Regions from separate parts of the Homo sapiens genome. Here all the other regions are linked to region 2. The links are contacts of gene promoters, found by promoter capture Hi-C in blood cells and fetal thymus (Javierre and others, 2016). All regions are on one chromosome and are shown on one strand. Each heading gives the region's core, a stretch centred on a gene start or on the middle of the fragment in contact. The rest is flanking DNA. Distances are from core to core; before and after follow the strand shown.

The links. Contacts are between HindIII fragments. The CHiCAGO score rates a contact against its expected background, and 5 or more counts as called.
Region 1: a contact is called between a fragment that was not itself captured here and the fragment with the promoter of RNF183 in region 2, in 5 of 17 cell types (naive B cells, activated CD4 T cells, naive CD8 T cells and 2 more). The highest score is 6.4, in naive B cells.
Region 3: a fragment that was not itself captured here is called in contact with the fragment with the promoter of RNF183 in region 2 in 4 of 17 cell types (erythroblasts, naive CD4 T cells, naive B cells and 1 more); the score reaches 7.3 in erythroblasts.
Region 4: a contact is called between a fragment that was not itself captured here and the fragment with the promoter of RNF183 in region 2, in 14 of 17 cell types (fetal thymus, naive CD4 T cells, total CD4 T cells and 11 more). The highest score is 10.7, in fetal thymus.

Annotation. Positions count from the first base shown.
Region 1 is chr9:113,666,098-113,672,814 of GRCh38, forward strand. All of the region lies in intron 2 of LOC105376223 (a long non-coding RNA gene), which reads left to right. Among named protein-coding and RNA genes, the nearest start is that of RGS3, 210 kb to the left of the region's middle. The HindIII fragment of the contact is 3,704 bases long and covers 1-3,375 here.
Region 2 is chr9:113,301,178-113,308,243 of GRCh38, forward strand. It overlaps RNF183 (ring finger protein 183), which reads right to left and starts at 2,199. Exons shown (of 5, transcript NM_001371237.1): 1 at 1,879-2,199; 2 at 1,018-1,136; 3 at 495-574. RefSeq lists enhancers at 4,470-4,639, 6,405-6,574 and a cis regulatory region at 6,490. The HindIII fragment of the contact is 12,929 bases long and covers 2,080-7,066 here.
Region 3 is chr9:113,622,572-113,628,979 of GRCh38, forward strand. LOC105376222 (a long non-coding RNA gene) reads left to right here. Exons shown (of 4, transcript XR_007061739.1): 2 at 1-1,787; 3 at 2,874-3,168; 4 at 4,064-6,220. Among named protein-coding and RNA genes, the nearest start is that of RGS3, 160 kb to the left of the region's middle. RefSeq lists enhancers at 97-968, 646-705 and a silencer at 398-692. The HindIII fragment of the contact is 859 bases long and covers 3,747-4,605 here.
Region 4 is chr9:113,642,481-113,648,594 of GRCh38, forward strand. It overlaps LOC105376223 (a long non-coding RNA gene), which reads left to right and starts at 5,395. Exons shown (of 3, transcript XR_930254.3): 1 at 5,395-5,522. The HindIII fragment of the contact is 4,085 bases long and covers 1,675-5,759 here.

The DNA of each region.
Region 1 (6,717 bases), core at 274-2,773, 360 kb after region 2:
TTAACAAATAAAAGAGTAAATGCACCCACTCCCTTTAATTTAGAATTGTCAATAAATAAATAAATAAATAAATAAAATAGGCCAGGCACGGTGTTGGCACCTGTAATCCCAGGGCTTTGGGAAGCCAAGGCAGGAGGATTGCTCGAGGCCAGGACTTTGAGACCTGCCTGAGCAACACAGTAAGATCCCATCTCAACAACAACAACAAAAGAATTGTCCAAAGGAAGCAGTTGCGTTAAGCTCCCACCCAGCTTGTGACTTTAGACTAAAAATAGGCATAGGGACACCAGGCTCCTCTAACTCCCTAATATGAATTTTAATTTTTAATAACTCGAGAAATCAGTGAACTATACCTATGGGAAAATGATGAGGAATCGGCCACATAAATTAATGGAAAGTATGTGTTCACATTATCTAACTGTATTAAGTGTGAATAATAATTAATTATAGATTCTACATGAGGTCTTGTCTTGGAGAGTTCTTTAACCCAATGTGAAGAAATTTAAAAAGTCATTCATCACTCTCCTGTGCTCCACCCCAGGCCATAACATAAAAAGCAATAGCTAAAGAATTTTCTATAATTTATTAAGATTATCATCTTAGAGGAAAAATAACTCTTTAGAGCATAACAACTTAGAAATGGAAGCTGCACCCAAACGTGTTTGTTAATGCTGGTGTAATCATCCAGGCCACCTCCCCGTTCTCCCCTGCATTTATTCATTCTTTCACTCAGTCACTGTACACCCTGTGAATGTGGTATGGAGAGGTGGTATAGCAAGCGGATATGAACATGAACTCCAGGGCCAGACTGTCTGGGGTCAAATCCAAGCTCATCTACTTTCCAGCTGTGTGGTGTTAGGCAATTTGCTAAACCTCTCTGTGTCCAAGTTTCCATTCTATAAAATAGAGAGAATAATAGGACCCATCTCATAGAGCTGGGATGGGAGCTTAATAAGCCAATACATGTGATGTGCTTGACCTAGAGCTGAAACTAATTCTAGGTGTGGCCCTGCTGGTGTGCTGGGCAGTAAGACAAAATGACTTTCTGCCCTTAGAGAGTTTGCTGATTGGTGAGGAAAACAGACCATAAATAAGCAGCTGCATTTTAAATTACAAAGTGTGTGTTGCATACGCAAGAGAGTACAGGACTACGATAGGGAATGATGAGGGCATTTTATATAAGGCAAGCAGGTCCAGCTTCTCTCGGGAGGGGACGTTCAGATCAAGGACTGAAGATAAGAAGGAGCTGGTTAAGTGAAGAGTTGGGGGAAGAAGATTCCAGGTCTTGGCTTATGTGTGGTACCCTGCTACCTTGGGTTGCCCTTTCCCTGTTTAGATTTTTTTTTTTTTTTGAGACGGAGTCTTGCTCTGTCACCCAGGCTGGAGTGCAGTGGCTCGATCTCGGCTCACTGCAAGCTCTGCCTCCCAGGTTCATGCCATTCTCCTGCTTCAGCCTCCCGAGTAGCTGGGACTACAGGCGCCCGCCACCAAGCCCGACTCATTTTTTTGTATTTTTAGTACAGATGGGGTTTCACTGTGTTAGCCAGGATGGTCTTGATCTCCTGACCTCGTGATCCGCCCGCCTCGGCCTCCCAAAGTGCTGGGATTACAGGTGTGAGCCACTGCACCAGGACTTTTTTTTTTTTTTTTGACAGAGTTTCACTCTTGTTGCCCATGCTGGAGTGCAGTGCAATGGCACGATCTCGGTTCACCACAACCTCTGCCCCCCAGGTTCAGGAAATTCTCCTGCCTCAGCCTCCTGAGTAGCTGAGATTACAGGCATGCCCCACCATGCCTGGCTAATTTTGTATTTTTAGTAGAGACGGGGTTTCTCTGTGTTGGTCAGGCTGGTCTCGAACTCCTGACCTCAGGTGATCCGGCTGCCTCGGCCTCCCAAAGTGTTGGGATTACAGGCGTGAGCCACCGCCACCGACCATCTTTCTGTTTTTATCAGACTCAGCTACAGAGAGCAAAGGTACTCATCTCCCAGCCCCTGGCACATTCTCACTGTTGAACTGCACACAACCTTTTTTGTGGGTTTGGGTTTTTTTTTTTTTAACCTTTTTCTCATTTATCCCTGATTCCCACCACCATTCTGTTTCCCCCATGGGCATTTTCCCTCATGTATTTGATATATGTTCTTAAATATGCATGAATCCTTATAAAACATGTTGTGCTATTCTGTGTATATCTGCTTTTAATTAACATGACTAATTCCGTGCCGTAGCTCTCAGTCTGGTTTTTTTTTTTCTTTCCTCTCTTAGCACCGAAGTATATTCAATGGTCTGTAATAGTTGCTTATAACCATGCACAATGTTTTTCCATGGTGAGAATTCACCACATTTTTCTCATGCATTTCTTCAGCAATGGACACCCTGGTGGTCTCAAAGTCCCTGATCCTCCAAACTACACTGCTGGAGTAGCCTCAAGGGGCGGCAGGGCTTCTTTTTGTACCATAAGATGCGAGACGCAGGGTGTGAGAGGAGATGTCTCTGAGATAGACATCCAGGAGAGGTCACGCTGGGTTGTGAATAAATATTTAATGTCCTTAACTGCCAGGGCCCTATAGCCCAAATGGCACCTCCATGAAAACTAGAAAAAGCACAAAAACCAAAACAACAACACTAACAAAAAACCCCAGAAACACAACAAAATTGAAACAAACACAAAAGCCCTGCCTGCCCTTTGAGGCTCAGCTCACCGCTGTCTCCTAAGGGGCCGGATACCATTTCTTTTCTACTCTGAATGCCCCTGGCACATGGTCCCCTTTGCCTGGGAAACAGTGAGCTACTTGAAGGCAGAAAATCATATATTTGTCTCTTTCTTGCTTTCTCTCTCTCTTTCTCCTTCCTTCCTTCCTTCCTTCTTTCTTTCTTTTCTCTCTTTCTTTCCTCCCTCCCTCCCTCCCTCTCTCCCTCTCTCTCTCTCTCTCTCTTTCTCTTTCCTTCCTTCCTTCCTTCCTTCCTTCCTTCCTTCCTTCCTTCCTTCCTTCCTTCCTTCCTTCCTTCCTTCCTTCTCTCTCTCTCTCTCTCTCTTTCTTTCTTTCTTTCTTTCTCAGAGTCTTGCTCTGTTGCCCAGGCTGGACTGCAGTGGCGCAATCTCAGCTTACTGCAGCCTCCACCTCCTGCGTTCAAGTGATTCTCCTGCCTCAGCCTCCTGAGTCGCTGGGACTACAGGTGCGCACCATCATGCCTGGCTGATTTTTGTATTTTCATTAGAGATGGGGTTTCACCATGTTGGCCAGGATGGTCTCGATCTCCTGACCTTGTGATCCCCCTGCCTCAGCCTCCCAAAGTGTCGGGATTACAGGCGTGAGCCACCGCCTCCGGCCTATTTGTTGTCTTTCTACCAATTGCAATAGCAGGCCCTCATAAAAGCTTGCTGGACTGATTTTCTATTTCCTGACACTTCAGAGCAGCATGACCTCACCACATATTGATAAGCATGCCCACTACAGAAAAGGGGAAAATGATGGATTTGAGAATCAAGAATTGTAAGATTCTGGTCTCCTTGCTGTCACCAACCTGAAGGGTAACCATCAGCAAACAACTTTTCCTCTCCGGGTCTGAGTTTCCCAGTGGCAGCTCCTCTGTGACAGAGATAGGCTAGTTTCCCCCAAACCACTTCCCTTTTCCTCTTGGGCTTACATGTAGCCTGCATTACCCAGCCTCCTTGCAGTGAGGTGCAGGCCTGTCTTCAGGTTCTGGTCAATAGAATGTGGATGGAGGTGACATACTCTGCTTCCAGGCCTGATTTGTGAAAACCTCCTCATGCGAATCTCCACATTCTTACATCATCTGCTGGCCAGATGCAGAAAATCCCACAGCACCGCAAGCTAGAAGGAGCTTGGATCCCGAGTCACCCCCTGGAGGAGAGCCATCCAGGAGAGCTTTATAACCAGAAACACCCTTGGGGGATGGTTGTATGAGCAAAACTAAACTTTTATGGTGTTTTGCCTTTGAAAATTTTGAGGTTGGTTGTTACACTAGGTGCCCTCCTGATTAATCTATTTCCCTCAAGCCAGATTTCACCCAATAATTCCTTAATTTGTGTCATGCTTCTCCACTTTTCACAATTGATGTTTTGTGGCCCAGTTCTTTTATTCTACTCAAAAGTAGCTGAATAATCTGAAATAGCAATTGAGTATCCAAAAGGAGCCAATCTCAATGCTGGAGTTGCCCTGCATCCGCTCCCTACAATCCATCACTATCATGGAACCAAAAGGATCTCTCTGGAACCAAAAGGAAAAGGCAATTCCTCCAAAATACTTTCATGGTCTTCTGTTATCCTCAGAATGAAGCCAAAGGGCTCATGCCTACAAGGGCTACCAAAACTGGCTTTGTCTATTTCTTCTACTTCCTCTCCTCTGTTGAGTCCACGGTTCAGCTGCAAAAGCATTTCCTCTAACATGCCAGTCTCAGTGCCCAACACGGTAAGGACTAGGCCTTCAGGGTAACGCTGCACGCACCGCTAGCTGAGCCCAGGAGGCTCTTCCATCCCCTCCTCCTTATCTTGGGGGTGTGGCTTACAAGTCACTTTTCCTTAGGGGGTCTGGGCCCCCTGATCACTCGCTCTGGTCCACGCTCTTGCCCCACTGATGTGCTTACCACTCACAACATTCACTGCAGTTGTAATTACTTGTCCCCTGAACTGTCAGTGTCCTGAAGGAAGGACCAAGCCAGTCTTGCTTCTTGCTGAATCCCCACACCTGGCCCAGACCCTGGCTTGTTGTCCATGCTCTTAAGTATAGTCATGTGTCGCTTAACAAATGGGGATGCGTTCTGAGAAATGCGTCATTAGGTGATTTTGTGCAAATGTCATAAAAGTGTACTCACACAAACCTAGATGGTAGAGGCTGCCACACACCTAGGCTACATGGTCTAGCCTGTGGGTCCTAGGCTACTAACCTGCACTTGCGGCACTGTACTGAAGACTGTAGGTGACTGTAACACAATGGTAAGTATTTGTGTGTCTAAACATAGAAAATGGACGGTAAAAATGCAGTATTATCATCTGATGGGACCACCAACTTATATGCGGTCTGTCATCGACTGAAACGTCCTATGGCACATGACTGTAGTTGCTGAACAGGGGCATCAATAAATGACCCAATCCTGAGGGAACGAGTGGTTTGATTCCTGGGGAAGGGGTCGTATCCTGTGTCATCCTGGGGGGACAAATGGATTTCTTGGAAGGCATAGTGCCTCTCAAAGGAACAAAAAGGCCATCCTTGGATGCACTAGGTCCCCATGGGTGAGAGCGTTCGGTCCAGGGCTTCCCAGAGTGAATCTACAAAGCCAACACGCTCAGCGCCCACAGAGAGAGATCCCATACTGGTCACCAGTTTGGGCCACTGAGTTCTGGATCTCCCTCTGAACCCAAGACTTAATAACACACAAAAATAAAGCTGAAGGCCCAGGCAGGAAGGCGTGATGAGCGTTCACAGGGCGGACAGGCTGGGCATGGAGATCCTCTCCCACAACGGGCACACTTTCAGATGCACAAACTCATCTCCAGGCAATTGTTTTCTCCGTGAGTTCCCTTGAAGCAGCCATTTGCGTCTCTTGATCCCACACGCCGATGACCTTGTTAGGTCTTGTTAGATAGATGGAAGACTGTACTTGTGCCCTTTCTCTCTCTCTGGCTAATTACAATTTGCAAGTTGAGGTCCTTCAGGTGAATTAAAACAAGACACTTGACGATTAACTTAAATAACAAATAATGTCAGCTTGGCCATCTGCCGATGGCTGGCCCCCATCCTGACCACAGGTGCCATCAGCAAGAGGATCTGTTCTCTCAGCCCAGCAAGATCGTAAAAGCCCAGGCCAAGAGACCCCGGGACCCCGGAACACCAGTGCCCGGCACAGTAAGGACTCAGCCTTCATGGTAACGCTGCAGTCTCAGGTTGGTGACAGCTGCTCTGCCAGGCCCTTGTGGCCAAAATTTCAGGCCTGCCAGTTTATAAATTTTGTCCTTTTTCACCCAGTATTAAGAAAGCCTGTGTTCCTTGACCTATCACTGCTGTTGTGTCCACGGTTGGTATAAATATTGCCTTCCAATTACACAGAATTTTGAATTTTTGCTCAAAGCATTCGTTTGGTTACTTCACTCTCTTGTCTTTCCAAATCGTCCCTTTTCCCTCATCTGAGATTTCGTCTGGGCCACTCCCCAGGAGAGCAGGAGTGAGATGTGCTCAAACTCCTTTCCAGGACTTGTTACAGATCTGACGTGGGTGGATGGATGGGGCTGGGCCAGGCTAGACCTAGTAAAGGTCAGAGGCTATTGCTGCTGGAAGAGCTTTATTTATGGGCAGGAAGACTGAGGTCCCCAGGAGAGGAGTAGCACAGGGCTGCATGAGGGTAGAGCTGGGTTTGGGCTCACAGTGGCTACCTCCTGCACCAGGGCTCTATGCAGCATCCCAGCCACCCCAGCCACCCGCTCGGGCAGGAAGAGATGGCCAGGCCCCTTCCTGAGTGATCTAAGTTCTGAGCTTTGCAAAGACCCTCCTGGTAGGATCTCAATCTGGAGCAACGAACTGGAAGCCTAGGCCAGACCCCTTGCCATCCTATCGGTCTCCTTGGCTCCATGCCTGCAGTGGCCTCAACTGGCCCATGCCAGCTTGAGCTTCTGGCGAAGTGGGTCTGTTGTTGCTGGTTTCTGTTTGCCTAGCCCTCCTTCCCCTGATCACAGCAGCCCTTAACTTTTTTTCTTTTCTTT
Region 2 (7,066 bases), core at 949-3,448:
AGAGCCCAGCACCCAGTAAAGACCACAAAGCAATGCATGACCTAAAAATGGGACTATGTTCTCAGAAACACATCGTTGTATGAACAGCACAGAGAGTATTTACACAAACCTAGATGGTAGAGCCTGCTACATGCCTAGGCTATACGGTCTAGCCTGTTGCTCCTAGGCTACAAACCCATACAGCTTATTATGTTCTGAACACTGTAGGCAATTGTAACACAATGATAATTGCGTGTGTCTTTCAACATAAACTTAGAAAAGGCAAGGTAAATATATGGTATTATAATCTTAGGTGGCCACCATCACATATGTAATTCACTGTTGATCAAAACATTGTTATGGATATATGAGGCAGTTGAAATTATTAATGCAAATGGATTTGAGAGAAAGGAAGGGTCAAGGTTGATTTCAAAGCCGTGACAAAGTCCTCTGCATCAAGCTTTGAGAAGCCCCTGAATCCCAGAGTGTGTTAGAAGCAGATCTTTAATACTTACCAGAGGCCGTAAACTGTATGTAACCTTGACTCATCATTTCCCCCACTGGGAATCGATTCCACGGAAACCATCAAGGACTTCTGCAAAGATGTGAGTAAAGAGATGCCCATCCAGGCGCTGGTTTAACGGTGACGTATGGAGAACTACGTCATCATCCAGTAATAGGACATTGATTAAGTAGATTCTGCTCCATCCATAGGAAGAGATATTATGCAGCCTTTAATATGATGTGGTAAAACTATTAATATGGATATATACCTAGGATATAATGTCATTAAGCGAAAAAGAACCAGCAACAAAACCATATTACCATATAATCCAATTTCCAAAAGTGTGTGTGCAATGGAAAAAATGTCTGGAGAGATAAACAACCAGATATTAGCAGTGGTTATCTCTGGGGGCAAGATTATAAGTTTTTTTTTTTTTTTTAATTCTCTTACCTGAAAATTCTAACTTTACTCCATCCAGTAAGCTTGTATTACTACACGTCAAGATCTCCTGTTTCCCCCCAAATCAGACCTACCTTCTCTGAAGTTCCATGGCCAGAACTGTAAAAGGCTGTCCAAGAGGAGGAAGCATCATTATTGCCTGGATCTTTATCTGTGCTGCTCTCCCAGGGATCCACTGCTGTTTCAGGATCAGCTGGGGAGAGATTCTGGCCATGTATCACCTCCACCCCAAGCCAGGACATCTCAGCTACAGTAAATCCTAAACACCGCCCCAAAGTCATCTCCTTGGTCTATGAACAAGTCATCGCCAAATATCAATTGTCCCCAGCATCACTCCATTGTTTTCAACCAAGAACTGGCATTTCCATAGCACTTCACAGTTTACAAAGGGCCCTGGCCCTTGCTAAGATCTAAGTGTGGTGATCCATCTAGATAGGTTACTAGCCTTTTGGGATTTTTTGTTGTTGTTTGCAGAAAGCCATTTGATACTCTAAAACCACCCTGTGAGAGAGGCTGAATGGGGAGTAGAAAGGTGCCGGCTTTGGAACCAGATTTGGAACAATTTGTCTTGGACAAATGGCTTAACCTCTCTGAACTTCATTTTCCTCTGTAAAAAAGGCTAATCATCCCACTCCTACAAGGTTGCTCTGGGGAAGGAATAGTCTATACGGTGCCCAGTAGAATACGGAAGGCGCTCAATACAGAGTTAGCATGATTATTTTTAGACCCATTTTCTAGATGGGGAAGCCAAGGCTCAGAAGGGTGAGGCAACTTGCCGAAGTCTTCCCAGCTAAAGAGTGGCTGAGTTTGAAAGATGAACCCAGTAGCCTGCCCTCCCAGGCCAGAGTTCACCTGTCGCGCGCTGCACGGCTGCTGCCTCTCTGGACTCTGGAGCCCTGTGACCCGTCCCTCCGCGACCCTCTCTGTCTCCTTACCTGCTCCCTCGGAGCCGCCTCCTCCGCCTCCGTTCGTGCAGCCCTGCACGCATGTGCTTTGTTTTCTGACTTCCCAGGCCCGATTTCCAGGTAGCGTGGGTGGGTCTTATTTGCATAGGTCTTAGCAGCGTTTGGCCAGCTCTCGCTGTTTCAGGTTTTCTTCTTCCTTCTGGTGACTTTGGACCTCCTGTACACCCTGGAAGCTTTGGTTGCTTTGTCTTTCTCCTGTGAGTCACTCTGGCTTTTTCTCTGAGGGGATCAAGTGCGCTCATCCTTGCAGGCCTCTGTTCTGGGTCCGATTGATCTCCTGCCATCCCCTCGGATTCCACTGTCCTCTGTGCGCTGACCTGCCTCGACTCCTGGCTTCTGCCGAGATGGATCCTTCCCTATGCTGAGTCCCTGTAACCAAAATACAGATAGCTCTTGCAAAATACTGACAAAAGCGGCCACTAATACAGCAGAAAAATAGTCGGGAGACGGTTGAGCGTCTGCCTGAAGAGCCAGGGTTCTCAAGCAAGGCACACTTCTAGGTCAGAGTTCAGCCCTCACTGAGAATCCAAACTCCGTTTAACTACCGATGGAGACTTGAGCAAATTAATTAACTTCTGCCAGCCTCAGTTTCCTCACCTGAAAATGGCCATAATAACCTACCTACTTGATCTGTAGATTAAATGAGGTAATACGTGTCGAGATCGCGTAATAACACAGGGCCTGGCAGACAGTAACTCGCTAAATGTTAACCAGAACTATTATTGTTATAACCGGTCTGTTCACGTGGCCCATCTTTTGTTCCCGCTCAAATTCTTTTTGTACCTATGGTCCTCTTTTCTTTCTCTCTCTCTTTCTTTCTTTTTTTTTTTCTTTCTTTTTTTTTTTTTTTTTTAAGACGTAGTTTTGCTCTGTCGCCCAGGCTAGAGTGCAGTGGGGCGATACTGGCTCACTGTAACCCCCACCTCCCTGGTTCCAGCAATTCTCCTGCCACGGCCTCCCGAGTAACTGGGACTACAGGTGCGCGCTACCATGCCCGGCTAATTTTTACATTCTTAGTAGAGACAGGATTTCGCCTTGTTGGCCAGGCTGGTCTCAAACTCCTGACCTCAGGTGATCCACCTGCCTCGACCTCCCAAAGTGCTGAGATTACAGGCATGAGCCACCGCGCCTGGCCCCTTATTTCTTTACTGACATTTTCAGCCATACTTGAGAAATAAACAAGTAAATAAATGTATCTGCTTGGTGATGTAATCAAATGCCCTAGTCCCCGCATTTTGTGTTTTTTTACATTAATTTTTATGTATTGATTTATTTTGAGACAGAGTCTCACTCTATCATCCAGGCTGGGGTGCGGTGGCACGATCACAGCTCACTGCAGCCTCAACCTCCTGGGGTCAAGCAGTCTTCCCACCTCCGCCTCCTGAGTACCTAGGACTACAGGTGCATGCCACCGTGGCTGGCTAATTTTTGTATTTCTTGTAGAGATGGGGTTTCTCCAGGTTGCCTAGGCTGGTCTCAAACTCCTGGGCTCCAGCAATCCACTTGCCAAAAGTGCTAAGATTACACTTGAGCCACCGTGCCCACATTTGATTTTTAAATAGGTAATATATTTACATGGTTGAGCATGTGAATGGTTTGATTTCACAGTGAAAACTGTCTCTTCGCAGCCACCTAGTTTCCCTGGAAATCAAAGTATTATACTATCAGTTTGTTGTGTATCTTTCCAAAGATGTTTTATACATACACAAACAGCATGTCCATGGCAAAACATCTATGTATTCCTTTACCTCCTTTTTACACAAATGTGCATATTATGTACACTGTTCTGCATTTTTCTTTTTTCATTTGATGATGTATTTGAGATATCATTCTGTATTAGTACATAAAGACCTTCTTCGGTTTTTGGCCCAGCGCTGTGACTCACACCTGTAATCCCAGCACTTTGGGAGGCCAAGGCGGGTGGATCACTTGAGGTCAGGAGTTCAAGACCAGCCTGGCCAACATGGTGAAACCCCGTCTCTACTAAAAATACAAAAATTAGCCGGCGTCATGGTGCACACCTGTAGTCCCAGCTACTCAGGAGGCTGAGGCAGGAGAATCGCTTGAACCTGGGAGGCAGAGGTTGCAGTGAGCTGAGATTGTACCACTGCACTCCAGCCTGGGCGACAGAGCAAAAAAAAAAAAAGAAGACCTTCTTCGGTTTTTTAATGGTTGTATCAGATTTCATTGAATGGCTGTACCATAAATCACTTCACCAATCCCCTATTGATCTAACCCCCTCATTATAAATATATAAATATTGAATGAAAGAATAATGCAAAAATGCTGATTTTAAGTTAGCCTAGAATTGTGTGAAAATAAAACTGTGGACTTTGGGAAGTTTTAGATCTCTAAAGAAAATGTCTAAGTAATTCTCCTCTTTCTGAGCTGGAGACGAGGTATATGATCACCGATGGCCTCAAAGTTCCTCTCAGCTCTGGAATTCCCTGCTTTTCGGTGTCACTACTGGTTAACTGAGGTTACTGGGGATTCGAGACACTGATTTAGTCCAAAGAACCTGGTTTGTATTTGAGAGTTTGGAAGTCACGCTTTCTGGCTTGGCAACATAAGAAAACATAAAGAAGTTCATCTACTTTGACCTAATCATGTAATTCCCCAGAAGCATCAAAAAGATATATTTTGGTTGAGTGAGGATATTCATTGCAGTTTTATTTTAATCACAAATGATTGAAAACACTCCAAAACCCCATCAATTAGGTGAAAAACTACATAATCATTTAAAATGATATAGAAAGATTTTCATTGACTTTTAAAAATGGTCACAGTATACTGTAAATGGAGGGGGAAAGCAGCTTAAAAATGGTGCATGTTGGCCGGATACGGTGGCTTACGCCTGTAATCCCAGCACTTTGGGAGGCCGAGGCAGGCGGATCACAAGGTCAGGAGTTTGAGACCAGCCTGGCCAATATGTTGAAACCCCGTCTCTACTAAAAAATACAAAAAAAAAAAAAACTTAGCTGGGCGTGGTGGCAGGTGCCTGTAATCCCAGCTACTTGGGAGGCTAAGGAGGCAGGAGAATCGCTTGAACCTGGGAGGCGGAGGTTGCAGTGAGCCGAGATTGCACCACTGCATTCCAGCCCAGGCAACAGAGAGAGAATCCATCTCAAAAAAAACACAAACAAACAAACCAAAACCAAAACAAAACAAAACAAAAAAACGGTGCATGTTGGCTGGGCACATGCCTATAATCCCAGCACTTTGGGAGGCCGAGGTTGGAGGATTGCTTGAGCCCAGGAGTTCAAGACTAGCGACCCCATTGCTACAAAAAATAAAAAAATAAAAAATTAGCTGGGCGTGGTGGCACATGCCTGTTGTCTCAGATACTCAGAAGGCTGAAGTGGGAGGATCACTTGAGCCCAGAAAGTCAAGGCTGCAGTGAGCCCAGATTGCACCACTGCACTCTAGCCTGGGCAACAGAGCAAAGACCCTGTGAAAGATAGAAAAGAAAAAAAGAAAGAAAAGAAGAAAAGAGAGGGAGAAGGAAGGAAGGAAAGAAGAAGGAAGGAAGGGAGGGAGGGAGGAAGAAAGGAAGGGAGGGAAGGAGGAAGGAAGGAAGGGAGGGAGGGAGGGAGGGGAAGGAAAAGAAAAGAAAAGGAAAGAAAGAGAGAATGTAGCATAAGCCAGATTTTGTAAAGCATAATTTATGTATAAAGACTGCAAGACCATGAGGCAAAATGTCACAATTTTATCTCTGGGTGATGGCCACTCATGTTTTCGCTTTCTTCTTGCTTACATTTTCCAAGTTCTCAAATATGTATTACTTTTGTAGTAAGAAAGTTCACTTAGAAAGTAAGTTAAGTCTGAGTTTTCTGCAACCAGGGTATCCAGAACTTAAAAAGATAAGCAGGTAGGGCAGGTAAGAAGTCAGTCATGACATTGTAAGCATTGAAATAAAAATAAAATAAGTCATAGCCAGGCATGGCCTGTAATCCCAGCACTTTGGGAGGCCGAGGCAGGCAGATCACTTGAGGTCAGGAGTTCGAGGCCAGCCTGGCCAACATGGTGAAACCCCGTCTCTACTAAAAATACAGAAATTAGCCAGGCATGGTGGTGGGTGCCTGTAATCCCAGCTACTCTGCAGGCTGAGGCAGGAGAATCACTTGAACCTAGGAGGCGGAGGTTGCAGTGGGCCGAGATCGCGCCATTGCACTCCAGCCTGGGCGACAAGAGCGAAACTCTGTCTCAGAAAAATAAAATAAAATTTAAAAAGTCATGGCTTTTTTCCAGGTCACTAATTGTCTAGTGAGTCTATGCATTATCATAATGTCTGTGGGTGGTCAGGCTAAGGAGTGCTTTGCCAACAGTGAAAAATTTTTCCAGGGAGATACCCGGGAGAGATAGTGAGGCATCTCAGGAACTTGAGAGTTAAACTAATTTATAAAGTTCATGCTTGTGGGGGCAAGATCAGCCATCTGGAAAAGCACCTCACCTAAGCAGTACCTTAGACCCGGGTGAGTGAAGAGTCATGAGACTCGGTGGAGCCCAGCCAATGTCTGGAGCAGAGGCGTGGGGTGGTTTTAACTCATCTGGGAAGGAAGAGGTGGCAGAGGGCAGAAGGATGGAGAAAAGGTGATGAGTGCAGCAGGTTTAGAATCCGGCATGGTCAGTGTTTAGCAGGCCCCAGTCAAGGGCAGAGGGCAACTCTCCCTAGGGGGCCACCATGTCATCATCACTCAGAGCCTTGCCTGAGGCTTGTCTAGCATTTAGGACAGTTCCGGCAGCATAGGCATCACTTAGAGATTGTTAGAAATGCAAAATCTGGCCGGGCATGGTGGCTAACACCTGTAATCCTGGCTCTTTGGGAAGCTGAGGCAGGCAGATCCCTTGGGGTCAGGAGTTCGAGACTAGCCTGGGCAACATGGTGAAACCCCATCTGTACTAAAAATACAAAAATCAGCTGGGTGTGGTAATGGACACCTGTAATCCCAGCTACTCGGGAGGCTGAAGCAGGAGAATCGCTTGAACCTGGGAGGTGGAGATTGCAGTGAGCCAAAATTGTGCCATTGCACTCCAGCCTGGGCAACAGAGCGAGACTACGTCTCAAAAAAAAAAAAAAAAAAAAAAAAAGAAAGAAAGAAAGAAAGAAAGAAAGAAAGAAAGAAAAACAGAAATGCAAAATCTCAGACCCACTCCAGAC
Region 3 (6,408 bases), core at 2,926-5,425, 320 kb after region 2:
CTATGAATGTCCCCCAAGCTGCTTAGCCCTTGTGTCTGCTTTTAAAAGTTCTGCTTTGCTTCTATATTTTTAAAGATTTCTTCCTCATGAGATATCAGCAGTTACTTCTCACCACGTTATCATGACTCCTTTGGATGAAAAACCAATAACCAGTGTGTATCAGGATTGTCTGTAGTGTAAGAGTTCATAATCAATGAATGAGAGGACTCTCTGATGAGTCAGGGATGTGGATTTTTGACATTTGTTTTGGCAGCTGAGAATAAGGGGTAGTTTTTTTCTTTCTAATTTTCACCCCAATAGCAGCTGCTTTCTGAGAGTTTTCTAGATAAATGTGAAATGAGTGTAGATCGATTTTTCCATGTAACTAATTTACATTCTGGGTGAACTCATTTTGCTTCTGACTTAGAGGTGCTTTCATTTCCTTCTCATCTGCACCCTGTTCTTGGAGAAGCTGCTCCACCCCTAGCCCATGATACATGATGCATGACCCAGCCCACTGGGCCCCCTGATGCCACCTGGGCCAATCAGATTTTCCAGTCAGGAAATTTGCAATTGAGATTCAGAGCTGGAAAGAGTCACCTGCTCTGATGGGAGCTGCATTTGTGGACTGTGACTCAGAGGCTGAGGCCCCAGGGAGCCGACCCCATGGGCCCTGGGCAAGCCCAGAGTGAATGTGGAAGCCGGGCTGTGGAGGTTCCCTGAGCAGACAGTCCGGGTGTGTGTGCGTGTGTTTGTCTGTGTGTGTGCGCACATGCTGGAGGATGGGGCAGAACGTAGGGTCCCAAGCCCCTGAGGGAGGGGCTTGTCCTAATCAAGTCACAGAAATCAGGGCAGGGAGAGCATGAAAGAGTCTTGTTCCCCTCTCTGCATTTGGGAGATTCAGGCCCCGGGGAGAGGAGAGACTGACCCATGATCATCCAGAGGGGACTTGGTTAAGCTGGTCCTGAGCTCTGCCATGCATGTTCTGTTTTCCTACCCTGGCAGCTGGCTCAGAGCATGGATAGGCCTTGTCTCTCTTTTCTTTCTTTCTGCCAAATTCTTTTCTGTTGGGAATCTGAACAGCGGGTAGATGCAGTCATGGCATGATTTGCTCCAAATATCTCCCCAACAGGTGGTCACGGTGTCTACAATTCCATCACCAGATCTTCCATTTCCAGGAGTAACCCTGGGCAGGTGTATACCATGTGTCTTGTTTACAGTGGGGATTAATAGTTCAAGGAGCCCAAGGTAAGGAAACCCATATTTGATGAATCTCCAGACAATTTATACCCACCACACAGCCTTATGAAGATAGCCCAATCACGCCTATTTTACAGAGGGGAAAACTGAAGTTCTGAGAGGTGAGCTGACTTGCCCAAGGTCACATAGCACGTCAAAATCGGGGCTCACATCTGCATCCAGAGTCCAGGCTCTTTGCCCTAAAGCAAGCTCATCTGATCTGGGAGCTGGGGATAGGCTGAGGAGGCGAGCGGGTGACAAAATGAACTTGTCCCATGGAGTCATTCAGTGGGAAAAGTTGTGGTTTGGGAATTAGGGCCAAATGGCTCCTTAACCTTGGGCATCATGGTGGGCCTCAATTTCCTTACCTCTGCAGGAGGGAAGGACCGGATGTACTCTGCAATCCCAGAAAACTCAATGGGCTGAGGCAGGAGGACCTACTGGCCATTGAAGACTGTCCACTCCTGGTCCAGATTCCAAGTGACCAGGCAGAAAGAGCATGGACTTTGGAGTTTGATTGCCTGGCTTTAAATCCCCCTGCTCCACTCGCTACTGTGGTGTGGACTCAAGTAGGTTAATTAACTGCTCCAGCTGCAGTTTTCTCATCTATAAAATGGGGATAATAATAGTATCTACCTCATAGTAATGATTAAATAAGTTAATGCCTGTAAAGCCGCGACAGTGCTGGATACCTAGGAAATGCTTAATGCATTTTTTTTTTTCTGAGATGGAGTCTTGCTCTGTCACCCAGGCTGGAGTGCAGTGGCGTGATCTCGGCTCACTGCAAGGTCCGCCTGCCAGGTTCACGCCATTCTCCTGCCTCAGCCTCCCAAGTAGCTGGGACTACAGGCGCCCGCCACCACGCCCGGCTAATTTTTTTGTATTTTTATTAGAGATGGGGTTTCACCGTGTTAGCCAGGATGGTCTCGATCTCCTGACCTTGTGATCCGCCCGCCTCGGCCTCCCACTTAATGCATATTAATTATTGCTATCATTCCTGACACCCTGTAGTGTGCCCCTCGGGGATGAGAGGGTTTAACTGAACATCTGTCTCCTCCCGGATGCGGTGGCAACCCTGGGATCTGGCAGCAGTCCCCTGTGGGCTTTTTTCCTGGGCAAAGTGAGTCCATCATCACTCAGACATGACACACGGCCTGGCCACCCCCTCTGGGGCCACAGGCAGCCGATCCTGGGCTAAAAATACCAGTCTCATGAATGGAGCCAGGGAGGCCATTCTGGGATCCACAATTAGTGTTTGTGTTAAAACCCATTCTCTGACTCTCCACCCCTTATGTGCTGCTGATTCCGGGGAGACTGACATTTTCAGCTCCCAACACTCACTCAGGGTTTGGGGGTTTGGGAACGGAAAGGAAGGGGAGTACATCTGAAGGGTCCTTTAACAAGTAGGGAGGCAGCCGGTCACCCAATTCCCCTACTACCGAGTCGGGTAGGAATTAAAATTCCCCTTTATAGTGGAGGAAATGGATGTTTCCAGAGATTGCAGCCTGGGGATATATAGTTAAGTCTGAGTTCTGGGCCAGTGCTCCCTCCAAAGTCTCTTCTCCCTCCACCTGGTGCCACCCAACAGCCCTTTGGGGAGGGGTCCTGACTTCGGGGGTGGGAGCTGACCTCGGGCATCTTCCATCTCTCCTGAGACTTGAGGTACAGTCATCCTATGAAGGATCAGAGCTGGAAAGTGGGGGCCTGGCTCAGGGAGCAGCAGAACCAGAGCAGAAGCTGAGCTGGAGATGCCCTGATGGGGCCGAGGTGGAGGCTCAGGCCTGGGATGGGCAGTTGGACCAGCAGGTCCAAAACAGCAGAAGCCAAGGCAGGCAGCGGTCTTGGAGATGCCCTCTGACCTGCCGTGGACTGGAGCCTCTAAGATGCTTCCTCCTGAGGCTGGAGCTGATGACTGGCATCCTTGGGATGTAACCTGCGTGCAGCCGGCAGGTGAGGACGTCATGCAGGGCAGGAGCTCAGGCCCCCCAGAGGGGGTCACACCTGGCCGGGCCACTGCCCTGTGAACATCCTTTCAAGGGACCCTTTCTCTTGCTTGTTTGTGGCCCCGCTAGACTGTAAGCTCTTGAGGACAGAGCCATTGGGAATGAATGACAAGGTGAGTCTGGGGGCCCAGGACCCCAGACAGTAGCTGTCCTTACTGAGAGAAGGGTTAGGGCTCCCGGAGGCATGGAGAAGGATGAAGGCCCAACTTACTCCACTTGGGGACCACCCTGATCACAGAAAACACTGCCTGCTTCCCTCACCCTCAGGGACAGCTATGCCCAAAGGGAGGGCCTCAGCCTCTGGCTGGAGAAAAAGCAGATAGTAAAGATGGTGGCCCCTGTGCTTTCAAGTTTCTCAAGCCAGATCCCGACTAGGCTCACAGTGTGTATTTGGGACTTTTAGAATTTGGGAAGTTGAGACCTATGAAAGTTTGAGAACCTGGGAAACTTCAGAGCTTTCAGGATCTTTTGAAATCTTGGACATTTTAGAATCTGGAGCATCTTTAAACCTGGGGAACTTTAAGAAGCTTGAACTCTTCTGACGTTGTGGAATTTGAGGGATTTCATTTTGGGGCTCTGTTGGCCTTGGAGTGGATGCTGTCCTCTTGGTGTAGAGGAGGACATTCGTCAGCAGACCTGAGCCCTCTCCTCCCACCGGCCCTCAGAGCCCAGTATTTCAAATATCTCGACGTTATGCAGTTTTAAACTTCAGATTTTTGAAATGAAATTGTATTAGTTATCTTGAATGTTCGATGTTGTGTTTCTCAAACATGTGTTGGCCTACTGGATTTCTAAGTTTCTGGCTCTTTCTTTTGCAAATGATTTTTCCTCTCATGTCACAGATTCAACAAATATTCATGCTGGAATGGGATGCAGAAGTCACCTACTTTCAGAGATGGGGAAACTGAGACCCAGAGAGGGCACAGCCTTTTCTCGGGGGCCTCCAGTGACTCAGAGTCAAATCTGTGCTTCTTGGCTCCTGGATCTCTGAGCTGCACCCACTGGACCCCTATGCCAACCCCAGCACCCCTGTTCTCCATGGCGGCCCCGCCCTGAGGATTTCCTATGCCTTTCTACAGAGCTTTCTCCTTCTCCTAGATCCCTTTTCTGCAAAACGAGGCTGGGGAGTTCTGAGCCAAGCCCAGGCCCACGTGCCTGGAACCAGAGACAGCGTAAGGAGCAGACACTGCCAGGTCACTTGCAGCAGACTCCAGGAGGAAATGAGGGAAACAGAACCTCAGCCGTAGCCTAGCCAGGGCTCTCAGAGCCTAGAAAGCTCTTAGGAGAAGTGGAGAGTTGTTCAGATCCAGGCTAATTTGTCATCTCCAGCCCTTCTCTGGTGATCAGCTTGCCTCTTCCTCTACCTGCCCCTATAGGTAGAGGAAGCTTGCCCTTCCTCTCCTGCATCTTCTCCTCCCCTTTCTGTCACATGCCTTCTGCTTCTTGAGGCCTCTGCCTCATTGTAGTTTCTCTTGCTGTCCAGTTCCGGTGAGCTCATGGCTTCTGTAGCCCAGTTTCTCTTTGCTTCCCTTTGTGAATCTTTCCTGCTTCGACTCTCACTCCCAACTTCTTAACTTACACTCAATGCTCCCAGAGGGAGGACTTGATTGGTTTGGAAGTCCCCCACCAGGACAGGCCAAGGATTAAGTGAGTTCTTATATGAGGTCTCTGATTCCCTAACTCCAGCTAGGTGTTCAATTATTCAGTTCAATTCTGACACCAACTCCAGGAGTTAGTGCAGACCCCAAGGTTTAGGGCTCAGCCCCACAGGGCTGTCCCCCTTTAGCCACCAGTCACACACAAGTCCAGGGACCATCTGTACATCTGACTGCCTGGCTCTGAATTTCAGGGTTCCCATAACCTCCCCTTCTAGTTAGATCATTCACTAGAACAATTCACAAAACTCAGCAAGTGCTTTACTTACTATTACCAGTGGATTATAAAGGATACTACTCAAGAACAGACTCATGGAAGAGATGCAGGGAACAAAACATGGGGGATTTGCACAAAGCTTCCACGCCCTCCCAGCGAGTCCCTGTGTTCACCAGCCCTGAAGCTCCCAAACCCTGTTGTTTAGGGGTTTTTCTTGCAGTTTCATTATGATGGATTAAATCATTGGCCATTGGCGATTGAATTCAATCTCCAGCCCATCTTACCCCCATGGAGGCTGTAGGGGGTGTGGGGGTAACCAGCCCTCATCATGAAGCTCTCTAGGGCTCCTCCATAAGTCATCTCATTAGCATATGAAAGGCAATACGTTCAGGGGTTTTAGGAGCTCTGTGCCAGGAATTAGAGACCAAGACCAAATATTTATATTTTATACCACACCAGGCCACTTCTCAGCCCACTGGCCAACTTCAAGATTGACTGCTGTTAGGTCACAATACCCACTTGGCCAGGGGTAGAGATCACTCAGTATCATGTGTGGTGTAAGCTGTTGAGATTAGGCATAGACAGTGGCAGGTGACTGACGGGCTGGACAACTGACAGATGCTCACCTTGGCCAGTGTAGGCACAGATAGGGCAGGACCCCATTTGTTTAAGTGTTCCATCCTCAGAAATCCCCTCTCCCCCACTTCTTCCTTCTCTTCATTCCTTCTTTGCTATTTTTAAATGGCACATTGGAAATAAAACAATTGTCAATGTATTCAGCCCTCCCGCAGCGGGCTGCCAATCAGCACAGTCCAGCCTACCTCCGCTTCCATTCCCTCCACCTTAGCCCTCACCTCCCTCTTTGCTCTTGCCCCCGTCTCCGGGCACTCAGGTCTCTGTTAGTTTCTCAACAGCTTTGCATATGCTGTTCCCTCTATTTGGAATGCTCTTCCCCATCTCCCACCCCTGGCTGGCTTTTCCTGGCCACCCACTCTGAATGATGCGCTCCTCTTACATATGTGCCCTGTGTGTTTCTTTACTGATACTTGTCAGCCTGCTGATCGACTTATTTGCACAAACATTTAATAAATCACTGGACCGTCTGCTGTAGGCGGGCAGAGATCAGATCTGTTTTGTCTTGCTCAGTACTGTGCAATAACACCTAGAACAGGCCTGGCTTGGTAGATAGCTATTGAATAAGTGAGTGAATGGATGAATGTCATTGAATCAGAGATGATTATGATTCACAAAGGCTTATATGTATGAGTGAATTTGAAAAAATAGAAACAACTTGAATATTCAATAATAGCCAATT
Region 4 (6,114 bases), core at 2,467-4,966, 340 kb after region 2:
TTATAATTGGCTTGAAATCAGGTGGTTTAAGTCCTTTAAATTTGTTCTTCTTTTTCAACTTATTTTATTCTAGGTGTTTTGGTTTTCCATATACATTTTATAATCATCTGGTCAATTTCTACCAAAAAAAAAAAAAAAAAGCCTGCTAAGTGTTGATTGGGATTGCGTTGAATCTGTAGATCAATTTGGGGGAGAATATATAGATCAATTTTAACAATATTGAGGCTTTCAATCAAAGAATATATTATCTCTCCATTTCTTTGGGAGTTCCTTAATATCACTCAGTGATGTTTTATAGTTTTTCTCCTAGAGTATTACATATATTTTGTTAAATATATCATTATATATATCATGTTTTTTGGACACGTCTGTAAATGGTATTTTGTAAATTCAATATTTAAGTGTTCATTACCAGTACATAGAAATACAATTCAGTTTTGAACATTGACTTTATATCTTGGAACTGTGCTAAACTCACTCATTAGTTCTAGTTGCTTTTTATTAGATTTCTTAGGATTTTCTATGTATACAATTATGGGGCTTGTGTTTTCATTTTAAAATATTGTTTTACTCTGTCTCATCCCATATGTATGTATTTTGCTGGGATTGTGTATTTTATTTCTGTTTCATGCTTTATTGCATTGGTTAGTGCCTCCTGTATGGTATAGAATCTAAGTGGTGAGAATGGATATTTTGACTTGTTACCAGTTTTAGTGAGAAAGAAATCTTCACCATTAAATATGATTTTTACATGAGGTTTTTAATAGATACTTTTTGTCAAATTGAAGAATTTTCTTCTATTTCAGGCTTGCTGAGAGTTTCAAATCATGCATGACCGTTGAGTTCTGTCATTTTTTTCCTGAATTTATTGAAATAATTATATGGCTCTTCTCATTTATTCTATCCAATATTGTGATTAATATTAATTGATTTTCAAATGTCAAACCAATTTTGTGTTCCTGGGATAAATGTAGTCAGTCATTTTATACACTTCTGGATTCAGTTTGCTAAAATATAAACATTTTTGCCTCTCTGGTTATGAGGAACATTGTTTTGTGGTTCCTTCTTCTCTCCCTGCCTTCTTTCCTTCCTTCCTTCTTTTTCTTGCATTGTCTTTGTCTAGTTTTGGTGTCATGGGAATGCTGACCTCACAAAATGAGTTGGAAAATTCTCCAACTCATTTTGAAAGAGTTTGTATAATATTTGTGTTATTTTTCCTTAAATGTCTGATAGAATTTATCATTAAGCCATCTAAGTCTGGAATTTGTTTTGTTTGCAACTTTTAATTACAAATCCAATTCCATAATAGATATAGAAGTTTTCAGATTTTCTATTTCTTTTTAAGTTAAGTTTTGGTAATTTCTGTCTTTCAAGAAACTTTTCCATTTCACTGAGTTGTCAAATTTTTTGGGAAAAAGCTATTTGTAAAATCCCCTTATTATCCTGCTAGGATCTATGTTGATGTACCTTTTGAGTTCCTGATATTGGTAATTGTGTCTTTATTCTTTTTTTTTTTTTGCCTTGATCAGTCTGGTTAGAGATTTATTATTTTTTTCCATCTTTTGGTTTTATAGATTTACTCCATTTGTTTTCTCTCCTTCTAGTTCATTGATTTCTATTCACTAATAATTCCTCCCTTCTCCTTCTTTTGGGTTTATTTACTCTTCTTTTTTAAGCTTCTTCAGGTGGGAGCTTACATTATTGATTTTAACCCTATCTTTTTTCTAATATAAACATTTAAAGCTATGCATTTCCCTTCAGGCACTCTCTTAGCTACATCCCACTCATTTTAATATACAGTGTTTTCATTTTTATTTGGTTCAAAATGTTTCTTATTTGCCTTGTGATTTCTTATTTGATCCATGTGTTATTTATAATGACTTTAATTTCCAAATATTTAGAAATTTTCAAAATATCTTTCCGTTACTGATTTCCAGTTTAATTCTGTTGTAGCCAGAGGTCATACTCTGCATAATTCAATCTCTTAAAAATTGTTGAGACTTTTTTATGGCCCAGCATGTGATCTGTCTTAGTGAATGCTCCATGTGTGCTTGGATAATGTGTATTCTGCTGTTGTTGGGTGGAGCATTCCTTAAATGTCAATTAAGTTCAGTTGGTTGATAGCACTGCTGATATTCTTACTGATGGTTTAAATCATTTTTATAATGTGTTCTTACACAAACGAGATTGTGTATATTACAAGAAAAATCAGATGATCCAGATGTAATAGGGTACCTGAGAAGGCAGAGACTCATTAGTTTTTTTTTAATCAAGAGAAGTGGGATCATAAAATCATCTTGAAGCAGATCCCTCAGTTAACTGAGAATACCTTGAATGGCCTTCTTAATCAGGCTATTAATCAGAAGGTAGAGCCAGAAGGCTTCGGTCTTTGGGGTTCCGGTGTAGATAGTCACTCCCTTAGATCTCTTGCAAATTGAGTAGGTACAGAGCAGGGATGACTACTTGGGTAAAAAGCCTTTAGAAGATAGTATAGTACTCTGCCTGATTAAGGAGGTCATTGGAAGGATTTCTCAATTAACTACAGGATCTGCTTCAGTTGCAGGGTGGATAAGGTGGTTCCATCTGAGTCTCCAGGGCAGGAAAGGGCCATGAGACCCATGGAATGATCTTATGGAGAAGGGTGGCCTAGCCAGGTGAGCTGGGAGGGCTTGGAGGCAAGCCTGGTTTTGAGGCCCCCTGCTTGGGTGAGTGAACAGGTCACACCCCCACTAGATGTGGGTCTGGTTCTCAAGGAGGTTACCATGCGTGTGCACAGATAAAATATTCACAAACTCTGAGACTCACGAACCTGGGAAATCTAAACTTCTTGTCCTCTATAGCAGGGGTCCCTAACCCCTGGTACCAGTCTGTGGCCTGTTAGGAGCCGGGAGGCACAGCAGGAGGTGAGCTGCGGGTGAGTGAGCTTTACTGCTAGAGCCCCGCCTCCTGTTAGATCAGCAGAGCCCTTAGATGCTCATAGGATTGCGAACCCTGTTGTGGACTGCGCATGCGAGGGATCTAGGCTGCACGCCTTATGGGAATCTAACTAATGCCTGATGATCTGAGGTGGAACAGTTTCATCCCAAAACCATCCCTCCCCATCCCCATCTCCTGTCTGTGGAAAAATTGTCTTCCACGAAACGTCCCTGGTGCCAAAAAGTTGGGGACTGCTGCTCTATAGGACCAAAGTTCCTGACTCTCACCTTCATGATGGTGGAAACAGAAACACAACATGAATGCTGGTGACTGAAGGGACCCCCCGCAGAGTGCAGTTTCATGAGAACTGACCCTGCCAGGGAGGGCAGCGGCGACAGGGCAGCCATTCACTGAGCCCTTGTTACAAGCCAGGTACCGGCAGGCAGGTGAGTCAGTTCTTACCATGATTGGGCAAGATGAGTCCTATTGCTGTACCCATTTTAGCTTCAAGGAAGTAGAGGCTCAGAGAGTCTAGGAGATTGCTTCCTGTCCCACAAATAGAGTGGAGTTTGAATCCCAGACAATCCAACTGTAGAGTTCATGCTCTTCAAGCTGGAGAGGTGGCCCAATCGCGGAGGTACTCGATTGCCAGGCTAGGGAGATTGGACTTTATTCTGAAGGCAATGGCAGGCATGGAGAATTCTGGAGCAGAGCCAGAAGGATCCCTCTGGCAGCTGGGTGGAGGGTGCCTTGCAGTGAATGGTTAGTTAGGAAGCTGTTCAAGACAGAAAGAATCACAGTTAAACCCAAATCAGCCCTAAGCACCAGAGATGAAAGTCTGAGGGGACTGAGGATAGTGTGGGGAAGAAGAAATTTCATCCAGTGTTAGAAATGGGCAGAGAGGTGGTTGGATGGAGAGATGGCAGACGGCATTAGAGGCATAGTGTGTGAGCGTCGGGGTGGGGGTGAACCTCTTTCCTCTGGCTCCTTGGTAAAGCCCAAGGGGAACAGGAGAGAAAATTCTGGACTAGAAATCAGGAGCCCAGGGTCCCAATCTTACCCTTGCCATGGGATTCACTGTATGACCATGGGCAATTTGCTCCCCTTCCCTCAGCCTCGGTTTCCCCATATGTACACTTTGCAGGGTTGGTGTGAACAGTGCCTGAGACCTGTTTTGCAAAGGGGAGAGCCCCATAACTGGTCTTTCCATTTCTGCTCCTGGTCCTTCTAATCCATCCCCCGAGGGTGGCCAGACGGAGGTTTAAAGTTAATTGCATCAAATGCCTGCACTGGTTTCCCTGCCCTGGCCCCTGCCTCCTGCTGCCTGGCTCCACTATGTTCTTAAAACCTACCGCTGGCTTTCACTGTACTTAAAAAATGTCCAAGCCCTTTCAATGGCCTTCAAGGCCCTGCGTGATCTGACTCCCGTTCACCTCCGGGATCTCATTTTCTCTCTCCCTCCTGGTCCTTCACTGCATTCCAGTTATGCTGGCCTTCTTTTCAGTTTCTCACAACTCACCCAGCTCTTTCTTATCTCTGAGCAATTGCTGTTCCCACTGCTTGGAATGCCCTCCCCCTGTATCAGTTATCAGTCTCAGTTAACTGCTGGGTAACAAAACACTCCAAAACCTAGTGACTTGAAACAACAACCATTTGTGGTTTCTTGGGAGGCGGTGGGTGGGCTGGGCAGCTCTGCCGATTTGGTGGCACTGGTGGATCTCGGTTGGTCTTGGCTAGTTCACTCAAGCATTTGCAGGCAGCTGCGGGTGGAGCAGGTGGTTCTGTGGATCTTGATCTCGGCTGGGCTCCCTCACGTGTTGGTGGTTGATGGACAGTTGGTTGGTCTGGGCTAGTCTTGGCTGGGGTGACTTAGATAACCAGGCTTCTCTTCCATGTGCCTTTCCTTCTCCCTAGCAGGCCTGCTGGGGTGAAGGCAGGAGTCCAAGGAAAAAGGCAGAATCCTGAAGCATGTTTTCAGCCTCTGTGTGGGTCATTTCCTAACATCCTACTGCCCAAAGAAAACCACATGGCCAGGGCCAGAGTAAAGGGTGGGGAAACAGACTCTGCCTCTTTTTTTTTTTTTTGAGACAGGGTCCTGCTCTGTTGCCCAGGCTGGAGTGCAGTGGTGCAGTCATGGCTCACTGCATCCTTGCCCTCCTGGGCTCAAGCGATCCTCCTGTCTCAGCCTCCTGAGCTGAGACTACAGGCGTTTGCCACCATGCCTGACTAATTATTTTTTCTAGAGATGGGGGTCTCTGTATGTTGTCCAGGCTGGTCTCGAACTCCTGGGCTCAAGTGATTCTCCTGTCTCAGCCTCCCAAAGTACTGGGATTACAGGCATGAGTCACTGCGCCTGGTGCTAGACTCTGCCCTTTTAGTGATAAGAACCAGCTATAAGATCACTGGGCAAAAGATCTGGACACAGAGAAAGGAGAAAAATTGGGGTATATTTATCTCTGCCTCCTTCTTTCTACCTAGTGCCTTCTCATGCATTGATGCCTCCTTGGAGGAGCCCTCCCTGACCATTCTGAGGGCAACAGTTGTTCCCTGGTTTTTCTCAGCCACAGCCCTGCTCTGCTTGGACCACCTTTGTCCCAGAATGCAAAGTAAGTGTTCAGCAAATATTTCTACGTCAACTAATAAACCATCACAATTCTTGGGGAAAGAATGACACTGTGCCCGTGAGTGGTCAGTCCCCTCCCTTTAAGTGCCACATCCCAGAAGTGCAGCCTCATAGAAAGCAGCTACCACATCAGCCTGTCCCCTGTCCCCTGTCCCCAGAGGAACCCTAGACCCTGAGGCTGCCCTTGCCATTAGAAATGAGGTTCTCAAGACTGGCTGAAAGCTTGTTGACCTAGTGGCCATGCCCTTGCTGGGAAGTCGCACTGCTCTGGTAGAGAGGGTCAGGCCATTCTGTCCCAGGAGACCCACAGGGCTTGCTCCATTGTCCTTCACTCTTAAAATAGATTTTATAACCATGCTGCTGAGTGAAGACCTCCAGAGTCTCAGAACTCAGGTCAGAGCCTGAACTCAGGTCTGAAGCCCTGTGAGGTCAAGGTGGACTGGGGCTACACAGTGGGATATGGACAGGACAGGCCTCAGGGCCCCGCCTCTACCTCCCAGCTGTTTCCACCTACCCAGTCCCCATAGGACTTCTCTGTCCCTTTGTGTTGTGGCTGTAGTGGCATCTTTCTAGAT